Regions from separate parts of the Homo sapiens genome. Here region 1 is linked to region 2. Evidence: promoter capture Hi-C in 16 types of primary human blood cells and fetal thymus (Javierre and others, 2016). All regions are on one chromosome and are shown on one strand. Each heading gives the region's core, a stretch centred on a gene start or on the middle of the fragment in contact. The rest is flanking DNA. Distances are from core to core; before and after follow the strand shown. Region 1 has its middle 80 kb from the start of MTDH. Region 2 holds the start of SDC2 (syndecan 2).

The links. Contacts are between HindIII fragments. The CHiCAGO score rates a contact against its expected background, and 5 or more counts as called.
Region 1: a contact is called between a fragment that was not itself captured here and the fragment with the promoter of SDC2 in region 2, in 3 of 17 cell types (M0 macrophages, M2 macrophages and M1 macrophages). The highest score is 15.3, in M0 macrophages.

Annotation. Positions count from the first base shown.
Region 1 is chr8:97,561,821-97,566,991 of GRCh38, forward strand. No RefSeq gene overlaps it. Among named protein-coding and RNA genes, the nearest start is that of MTDH, 80 kb to the right of the region's middle. The HindIII fragment of the contact is 8,862 bases long and covers 1-5,171 here.
Region 2 is chr8:96,490,609-96,495,615 of GRCh38, forward strand. It overlaps SDC2 (syndecan 2), which reads left to right and starts at 3,205. Exons shown (of 5, transcript NM_002998.4): 1 at 3,205-3,723. The coding sequence starts at 3,664. The HindIII fragment of the contact is 13,490 bases long and covers 1-4,857 here.

The sequences.
Region 1 (5,171 bases), core at 1,611-4,110, 1.1 Mb after region 2:
TCCAGCCTGGGCGACAAGAGCAAGACGCTGTATCAAAAAAAAAAAAAGAAGAAGAAGAAGAGTCATGGGGACTTCATAATTGTGCTCAGGTACATGTTTCAGAAGCAAAAATAGTGGATTAAGTGAGGGGTTTATTTCTCTCAGGTAACCAGGAAACCGAGTACTGGGTAAGCCAGCCCTAATGGGGCTGCTCACAGAACAGGCTCCTGCTACCTCCCCACTCTGTCATCTTTGCAAGTGGTCATAAGATGGCTGGGGCATCTTTAGGCATCATGTCACCATTTCAGGCAGGAAGGAGGAGAAAGGAGAAGGCAAAGGGCTCACACCCGCTGAGTCTGCCTAATTTTCCTAGGAAAACAGTAGCTTTCCCAGAACCTCATGGAGTGGAAGATATAAACCTTTCATTCACAGGCATTGGCCAGACTATCCACATGACTTTGAATTGTTGATGGGCCCAACACCATCCCAAAGCAAATTGGAGCTATAACAAGCAAGGGAAACGAGGCGAGTGGAAATTGAGTAGGCCACTGGCTGCATATGTCAAAAGAAGGAGAAAAGTATTAGGACACAGATTCGGAGGTCCTCATGCTAGGGCATGCAGCAGATGGCTGTCTACGAGGAAGTCCTCACCAGACAGCAACAAGAAATCTGCTAACCAACCTCCTCCTTATGGTGGACGCAGCGCTCACTGCAAGGGAGTCTTGGCTTCTTTTGACAGCCTGCATAAGTGAGCCATTCATCAATGGCTGCTGAGCCAGCAGAGCATCACACCCTCTAGGTGCCAACTCTGCACCTGCTGGAGTCTGGTCCCTCATCCCAGCCCCTCTGACCTCCCTCCCAATTCTCTTCCTCTCCATCTTGACCTCTCCTCCAGCTCTGAGAGTCCCTTGCCCTTCCTCACTTCCCAAATCTCTAGTCTGCGCACAGGAATCTGCTCTTTCTGAAGCCTGAGCTTCTGAAACATAGAACCCAAGAATACCCTTCTTTCTTTGTCCCTCTGTTTTCTCTGTCACCTTTCTCTAAGGCAGTGAACACAGAATGCCATACTCACTGAATGCATAAAGGAACCAGGGGTATAAGGAAGTTCCAGGAACAACAACAAATTAGATTTCGGCCAGTGGCAGCTTGGTGGCTCACACCTGTAATCCTAGCACTTTGGGAGGCTGAGGCAAGCAGATCACTTGAGCCCAGGAGTTCGAGACCACCCTGGAAAACATAGTGAAACCCCATCTCTACAAAAAAATACAAAAATTAGCCAGGCATGGTGGCACACACCTGTAGTGCCAGCTACTCAGGAGCTGATGTAGGAGGATCACCTGAGCCTGGGGAGGTTGAGGCTGCAGTGAGCTGTGATCATGCCTCTGCACTCCAGCCTAGGCAACAAGGTGAGACCCTGCCTAGAAAAAGAAAAGAAAAGAGAAAAGTAGATGTTAAAATATCATTCCTCTGCTCTTCATGTGAAATCTTACCCAGAAACCCAAAATGTAAAACATAAAAACCAGAGTATGGTTAAGGGGTGGAAAGAATGGGAGATGAGAGGACCCCAGGGCCCTCCCCCAGAGGCCTGAGAGAAGTCTGCCAAGGAAAGTTTGAAAACTCACCAAACTGGGAAATCTCTGCAGTCTCTTCCAGCTTGAAAGTTCTACAATTCAGTGTTAAGGAGCAAACACTTGGCCTAATTCCCAAACTTGAGAATAGTCACGCATACTAAGTGTGACAGGTGAAGTAAATGATGATTAATGTGGGTGTGTTGCAGGCTTTTTTTTGACCCTGATCCTACTCCTTGGCCTGCTTCAGGCCCTTCAGCTTCCCCACCCTCCAAGCAGGGTTTTTTCTGTGTGTGTGATAAGGAATCAGTATGGAAAGATGAGAAACACAAGAGTCGCCCGGTCAAAAATTAAGCAGAAAAATAATGCATGACAGCAAATCCATACCCACATAAATACCAAAAAGAACTGGAAACAGGGACTCAAACAAACACTTGTACACACATGTTTATAGCAGCACTATCCATGATAGCCAAAAACAAGAAACAACCCAAAAGCCCATCTACAGATGAGTGGATAAACAAACTGTGGTATTTTACATACCGTGGAATATTATTCAGTCATCAAAAGGAAGGAAGTGCTGATACATGCTGGATGAGCCTCAAAAACATTAAGCTGCTTGAAAGAAACAAGACACAAAAGGCCACATATCGTATGGTTCCATTTATAGGAAGTGTCCAGAATAGTTAAATCCAAAGAGAGAGGTGGCAAATTGTTGGTTGCCAGGGGCTCAGGGAGGGGAGAATGAGGAGTAACTGCTTAATGGGCATGGGGTTGTATTTGGGGAGAATAAAATGTTTCAGAACTAGATAGAGGTGATGGTTCTACAATATTAAGAATGTGTTAAATGACACTGAATTTTTCACTTTAAAATGGTTAATTTTAGGTTTTGTGAATTTTATCTCAATTTTTTAAAAATCAGTTGAGCAAAAAGAAAAAGAAGAGATGGCACCAGGGAATGTTTGCAGAGAGAGTGTTTGAGGGCAGTGGCTGTGGAAAGAGCAACTGCAGGTATGAGTGGAGTGGAAGGGGAGGGCACTGTGGGAGATGTTCTGCCCTCTCCCCACGCTGAAGTGCAGGTAAAGAACTCCAGCACTGGCGTGGTTTGGAGCAGAAGCTCTGGAACCAGACTGCCTGGTTTTAAATCCCCATCCTATTACTTATTAACAGTAACCTTCGGCAAGTTGCTTAACCTCTCCATACCTTGTTTCTTCATTTGTAACATGGAGATAATAATAATACATAACTAAGGATTGTTTAAAAGGGTTAAATAAATTCTTTCATATAAATCACTTGGGATAGTGTAGACCATCTCCTCAATATTCGCTTCAGCCTTCAGTGAATGTTACCCAGTGTTCTTTTCTCATGTGGTTTCATAGGTCTTCCTCTTTGACTAGACCATTCCAGAATTGAACCATGTCCACTGTCCACTGTGCTTTGTAAATCTTCTATCAGTGTTTCCCTATTCTGCAGAATGGTTTTTGAGACAGGGTCCCACTCTGTCACCAAGGCTAGAGTACAGTGGCACAGTCACAGCTCACTGCAGCCTCCACCTCCTGGTCTCAGGTGATCCTCCCACCTAAACCTCCTGAGTATCTGAGACTACAGTTGCCTGCCACCACACCCTGTGAATTTTTGTAATTTTTAGAGACGGGGTTTCGCCGCATTGCCCAGGCTGGTCTTGAACTCTGGCACTCAAGCAATCTGCCTGCCTCAGCCTCCCAAAGTGCTAGAATTACAGGCTTGAGCCACTGTACCCAGACTGCAGGTGTTTTAATACAAACTTTGAAATAAGTATAAATAATATCCTTTTCAAGGAAAGCTGCCTTTACATCTCAGGTTCTAAAGAACTAAATCCCCTAGTTTCTTTGACTGCCATAACAAAGTACCACAAACTTGGCTTAGAACAACAGAAATTTCTTCTGCCCCAGTACTTGGGGCTAGAAGTCTGGCTACAGCCACCAGGCTCTTTCCCAGCTGTCACCCAAGGCGTCAGCAGGGTCATGCTCCCTCCAAGCCTCTCGTGGAAAGCCCTTTCTAGTCTCTTCCAGTTTCTGGCAGCCTCCCGGCCTTCCTTGGCTTGTGGCAGCAGAATGTTTGCCTCTGTCCTCACATGGCTGTTATTCTGTCCTCACATGGCCGGGACAGGGGTGCGGCGCAGAGAGCCCCACGTCCTGGGAAACGGGGTGCTGCTGGAAAGGCAGCTGCACCCTCAACCCTCACGTGGGGAACCTGACGCTAAACCATTCGTAGCCCACCTGCTTCTGGGTAGGGGTTTCATACGTAGCAGAGCAGCTACCTGCTGAGATCTATTGAAAGTCAGCCCTTGACACAAGGGTTTGTAAAAGGAAAAATAAATAAATAAATAAATATATAAATAAATAAATAAAATGAAATAAATGAAAAAAGAAAAAAGACTTCAACGAATCTCCTAGGGGACACAATTCAACTCGTAAACTTCCCAATCCCTATAGCTCTCCTAATGCATTCATAAGCTCCACCGCCACACTTCTATGGGCTTCCCAGACTAACCAGCTGCTGGAACAATCTTTTGTTTGGCTTTGTTTTGTTTTTTAGATACAGGTTCTCACTCTATGGTCCAGGTTGGAGTGCAGTGGCACAATCATAGCTCACTGCAGCCTCAATCTCCCTGGCTCAAGTGATCTTCCTGCCTCAGCCTCCTAAGTAGCCGGGACTATGGGCTCATGCCACCATACCAGGCTAATTATTTTATTTTTTGTAGAGACAAGGATCTCACTTTGTTGCCCAGGCTGGTCTCGAACTCCTGAGCTCAAGTGATCCATCCACCTCAGCCACCCAAAGTGCTGGGATTACAGGCACGAGCCACTGTGCCCAGCTGGGAGCAATATATTTTTAATGTTTTAAATGTTTTATTTGGCACACTAAAACCCACATGCTTAACCACTGTACTGCAATGAATGAATGAATGATGAGTGTTGAATCAAAAAATATGTGTTGATCATGTCTAAGAAGGGAGTGAAAACCACAACTGAAACCCACCAGCCTCTAAAAAAGTTATGAGTAAATTGGTGCAAAAAAATATTGTTTATCCACGCCTGTAATTTCAGCACTTTGGGAGGCTGAGATAGGTGGATCACTTGAGGTCAGGAGTTTGAGACCAGCCCGAGGAACATGGTGAAACCCCGTCTCTATAAAAAATTCAAAAATTAGCCGGGTGTGGTGGTGCACTCCTGTGGCCCCAGCTACTTGGGAGGCTGAGGCTCAAGAATCACTTGAGCCCAGGAGATGGAGGCTGCAGTGAACTGTTATCAAGCCACTGCACTCCAGGCTGGGTAACACGGCAAGACTCTTTGTTTCAAAAAAAAAAAAAAAAAAGAAAGAAAGAAAGAGTATGATTGATCTATACATTAACTCCCCACAAAGGCACAGAACAGCAGAAGCTGCCCTGGAGAACTCCTGTCTTCTGGCTTCTTTGTGAGTTAGACAGGAAGTGGGACAGACCTTGGAGACCAAGACTGGGGCTTACCAAAGAGCCAGGCAGCCCCTAGGAGGGAAACTGTGTGTCCCTCAAAGGGTGTAAACTCCTGGAATTTTTTTTTCACTTCCCACTACAAAAACAGAGAATTATTAAAAGAGAAAATA
Region 2 (5,007 bases), core at 1,955-4,454:
TCCCCTACTCTGACAACTCACCTCAGGACAGAACACCTGTTTATCCACGGTTGTAATGTGGTATCATTTGTTACCGTAGTGACAGAGTCCGATGTGTCAGTTTAGGTTAAAAACTGTCTTTAGTAGCTTTCATTTCTATTTTTTCACTTGTCTGGTTCTCTTTATTTTTTATTTGTTTTTACATGTTTGCATCTTAATCTCTATGTTGTTTATTTTTAATATTTTCTCCTGAGACTCTTGAAGTGTGGTAATTATTCTTTTAGCAATCAATGAAGCTATTTGGGAAGTGATTGGTTAAGCTGTGCCCCTCAAAGCATAGCCCTCAAAACCTGAGGACTTGAAGTATATTTGCAAAGAACCTTTGGTTCTAGTCACAAGCTATACTTAGTGAATTAGATATACTACACAAAATTCTGCCAAATTTTAGTCCCCATCAGTTTTTTAAACATTTCCAATTAGCAAAACACACAAACAGGCCTACATCGTTTGCGAATTTAGACAAATCCTGACTAATACCAGCGGACCTCCCCTGACTTCTGTCCCCATCCCCACTCAGCATGGGTGACCTCTTTGTAGCCAGCTCTTGTGTAAGTGCTTTTTATACTGTCAGATTATCCTTCTTGCCACAGCTGTTAATAAATCTGAACACAAGATCTTGAATATTTGTTTTCATCTCCTTAATATTGTGTCACTCAAAATGGTACCAATTCCCTTATTATATATACTCTCAATGGAGTATTTATCATCTTTAAAGAAACAAGTCACTGAGCATCTCATCAACACCAAGAGCCTTGGGGTGTGCCTTCAGGGCAGCAAACAGATAATATCCCTTCAACACGTGTATCCACTTATTCATTTTTTATCACTGTCTGCCCAAGCTGAATCAGAGAGCATTCACCACGCTTCTTGTTACATGGGTGCCCCAGTAAACAGCAATAACTGTGAGAACCAGCAAATCAGTGGAGTGCACTTCCTGTTTTACTGGAATTCCAATTTATTTGATGAATACTTAACTGTTGGGGACAATGGAGGTGTGGCCTTGCCTGAAGGCTGGCGAGTAGACGAGGCCTCTTATGAGGACAGAGCTGGTATTTTATGGCTCTTTGCATGTATTTTGCATTGCTGCTTTTCCTTTGGAGGCCTTTTTAAGAAGTCTCCCCATCTCATGAACCTCTTCAACCCACAGACTCCATCTTAAAAATAAGGGCACTAGGCTGGTGGCTCACGTGTCTAATCCCAGGACTTTGGGAGGCTGAGGCAGGCAGATCACTTGAGCCCAAGAGTTTGAGACCAGCCTGGGCAACAATGGAAAACCCTGTCTCTATAAAAAACACAAAAATTAGCTGGTGTGGTGGCCTGTGCCTGTAGTCCCAGCTACTTGGTAAGCTGAGGTGGGAGGACTGCTTGAGCCTGAGAGGTAGAGGCTACAGTGCAGGCCACTGCACTCCAGCCTGGGCAAGAATGAGACCCTGTCTCAAAAAAAAAAAAAAAAAAAAAAAAGGCTGTGGTTCATTCTTTCAAAAGCTAAGTGGAGCCCACATTGGCACAGATGCCAGCTACAGTGTCTGTGGAATCAGAAGCATCATCTGATGTTACAACTTCTGGCCTATTGCTCTTTTTCTTCTTTCTCCTTTGCCTACTCTTCTATTTCTCCATATTACCTTTTTGTTGGCCAATGCCTTAGACTTGCTCATGAGCATTTGTAGGTTTGGTAGCTGGCACACAAAACCAAAGGAATAAGTGTCTCCAAGTTTGAGTTGTAATTCTCCAGTTAAATTTCTTTCTTTGAGATTTATTACAGTAATAGGTTACTAAGACATTTAATTCTCACTGAGGGTATGACTGTATTTTATTCTAATACTGAGTTGAAAAATTACCATGGCCTCATATCTATATATCTACATTGGTGTATTTTAAAGGCTCACAACTCTTATACGGTATAAATTGAGCTTTAGAGCAAAATTTATTCAAGATAATATTTATCATGTGTCTTTATGTACCAGGAATGAGAATACAATGGTGAACAGACAGAAAAGTCTCTGGTTTCCTGTAGTGGGCATTCCAGGAGCAGAATGGCGTCATAATTCATTTACTCTATAAGTCAGAGAGAAAAATGATGGCACGAACTGCAAGGGATTTGTGTGTAAAATTTGTGACAGTAAGAAAAAGAAACTGGAAGGGAATACGCATTTGCCATGTTCTATAATATGCCACAGACATTGTAACAAAATATTTCATGTCAGCTACTTCCATTTAGGAAATACATGTTCATTATTTTCTTCAAACTAAGAATTACTTTATCCCTCTTTTCTTTGAAGTTATCTTAAATCTGTTATTATTCAGGGTCTCTATCCAACTTCTCATCAAATTACCCTATTTGTAGCTTCCAAACGTTAACACCTATCTGCTAAAATGGAGCCTATAAAAAGCCTTAGTGGCATAAACTGTGTGTGAGGGAGAAATGGTATTTAAGCCCTTAATGAAGTTAGGAGCTTTCAAACTGTTGCACTTTGGGTTTACAGGATCCTTCCTCCATGTCCCTTTTTTGGGGGTGCGGAAGGATTTGGGAGAATGGGAAACACTCTCACTATATATTTATTACATTAATTATCTTCTCTTTTAAAATGCAATTTTCATGAACTGGCGATTTATGAACACTTCACATTGCTTGAAAGCATCTTACACTTTTTTTTTCCCTCAACTCACAAAGCAGTTTCTTTCTACTGGTCGAATTCTCAAGGCAGAAAAGCTACATACGTCTCTCGTTTCTTCACTAATTGTTCTCTAGAAAAGGGAAAGTGAAGAAGGGAAAGAGAAAAGACAACGGGGAAGAAAAGAGCATAGAGGAGAGAGGAAAAGTGGGGAGAGAAAGGAAGAAAAGGACTGAGAAAACGCAGGAGCCCTGGCTTGCCGGTGAGCAGAGCCGGCGCAGCCACAGCGCGGAGCCGCGGCGCCCACTGGTCCTCGGAGCTGCCAATCGGCGTGTAATCCTGTAGGAATTTCTCCCGGGTTTATCTGGGAGTCACACTGCCGCCTCCTCTCCCCAGTCGCCCAGGGGAGCCCGGAGAAGCAGGCTCAGGAGGGAGGGAGCCAGAGGAAAAGAAGAGGAGGAGAAGGAGGAGGACCCGGGGAGGGAGGCGCGGCGCGGGAGGAGGAGGGGCGCAGCCGCGGAGCCAGTGGCCCCGCTTGGACGCGCTGCTCTCCAGATACCCCCGGAGCTCCAGCCGCGCGGATCGCGCGCTCCCGCCGCTCTGCCCCTAAACTTCTGCCGTAGCTCCCTTTCAAGCCAGCGAATTTATTCCTTAAAACCAGAAACTGAACCTCGGCACGGGAAAGGAGTCCGCGGAGGAGCAAAACCACAGCAGAGCAAGAAGAGCTTCAGAGAGCAGCCTTCCCGGAGCACCAACTCCGTGTCGGGAGTGCAGAAACCAACAAGTGAGAGGGCGCCGCGTTCCCGGGGCGCAGCTGCGGGCGGCGGGAGCAGGCGCAGGAGGAGGAAGCGAGCGCCCCCGAGCCCCGAGCCCGAGTCCCCGAGCCTGAGCCGCAATCGCTGCGGTACTCTGCTCCGGATTCGTGTGCGCGGGCTGCGCCGAGCGCTGGGCAGGAGGCTTCGTTTTGCCCTGGTTGCAAGCAGCGGCTGGGAGCAGCCGGTCCCTGGGGAATATGCGGCGCGCGTGGATCCTGCTCACCTTGGGCTTGGTGGCCTGCGTGTCGGCGGAGTCGGTGAGTGGGCCAGGCGGAGGATGCGCGCGCCGTTTAGGGTGTTTGAAGCTACGAGAGGAGCCCGCAGGGAATAGGGGAGCGCCACCTGGGGAACCCCCAGTCCCCAAGTATACACCGGAGATCCGCTGGGACAAATGCGCTCGTCCGGTCACCCTTTCCCCCTCTTCCCTTCCTCAGAAAAGCGCTGCTCGCTGGCGTTACCCCGCGGTCCGCGGGAATGGGGGCACCGAGAATTGCGGTTTGGTCTAGCCGCAGAGGCCCCTGAAGTCACTCCCAACTTCTTCGCCCTCGGCGGGTCTTGCTGCGTGGTCTGGGAAGGACGGAGGGGAAAGGGTGGCAGGAGGGGGGAGCCTGGGTCGGGCCCGCGAGGGAACGGCTCCACTCCGCGCGCTCCTCGAGACCAGGGATGACCTGGAAACTTCGGGGTCCCTTCCTCCGCACACCATCCCCCCCGCGCCAGCTTTCCTGTTTGACTGCATGCAAGTTCTGGGGAGATGGGGGCCAGATTTAAGAGACCCGCGAGTGTCCAGAGAGAAAAGTTTGCAAAAGTTCTTTTGTTTGATGCTCCCTGCGGCTAGGGCGAGGTAACCGACACTACGTGGAATCGCAGTAGGCGATCCCTCAAGGGGATACTGGGGGAGGCACGGAACGCGTCCGAAAATGCTGGGACGCCGGCCACTGGATTCCCAGTCCTGCGGCGACCCCCTCCTCGTTGAGGGGTGGAGGTTGCACCGCGGGGCGTCAGGGACGGGAGGACATTTTCATAGGAGTTACACGGGAGTGCCGCAAGCAGGGCGAGGCGGGGTACGTGTGACACGGCGCTCGGCTTCGGGTCGCCTGGCCGCTGGGGGACAGAGGCTTCCCTCCCGCCACGCTCGCCCTCTCTGGCCCTGGCGGGGCGCTTCTGGGGCCGGGAGGAGTCTCGTCTCCGGCGGAGCGCCTGCCGGCACCCAGCTTCCCTCCCCCGCCCTGGCGGTGGGAACTTGATTTCTCCTTTTGGTCGCGCTTCGGGGGCTGGAGCTTGTTTCCCCACGTCGCCCAATGAGCGCCCTCTAAAGGGAACTGCCTCCTTGGCCTCCTCTCGTCCGCAGCTGCCTCCACCTGGGCGCCAGGAGCTCTGTCGGGCCAGGTGGAAGCTTGAGCACCCCAGATTTCGTCTGCAGCCTCAGTGCCCTCTGGGGTCTCAGGGAGTGCGGCTGTTTCTGGCCCTTCTGGTTCCCCACGTCCTCTCCCTTTGCCATTTAATAACGTGTCAATTTCTAATTAATTGAATGGTCTTTTCAA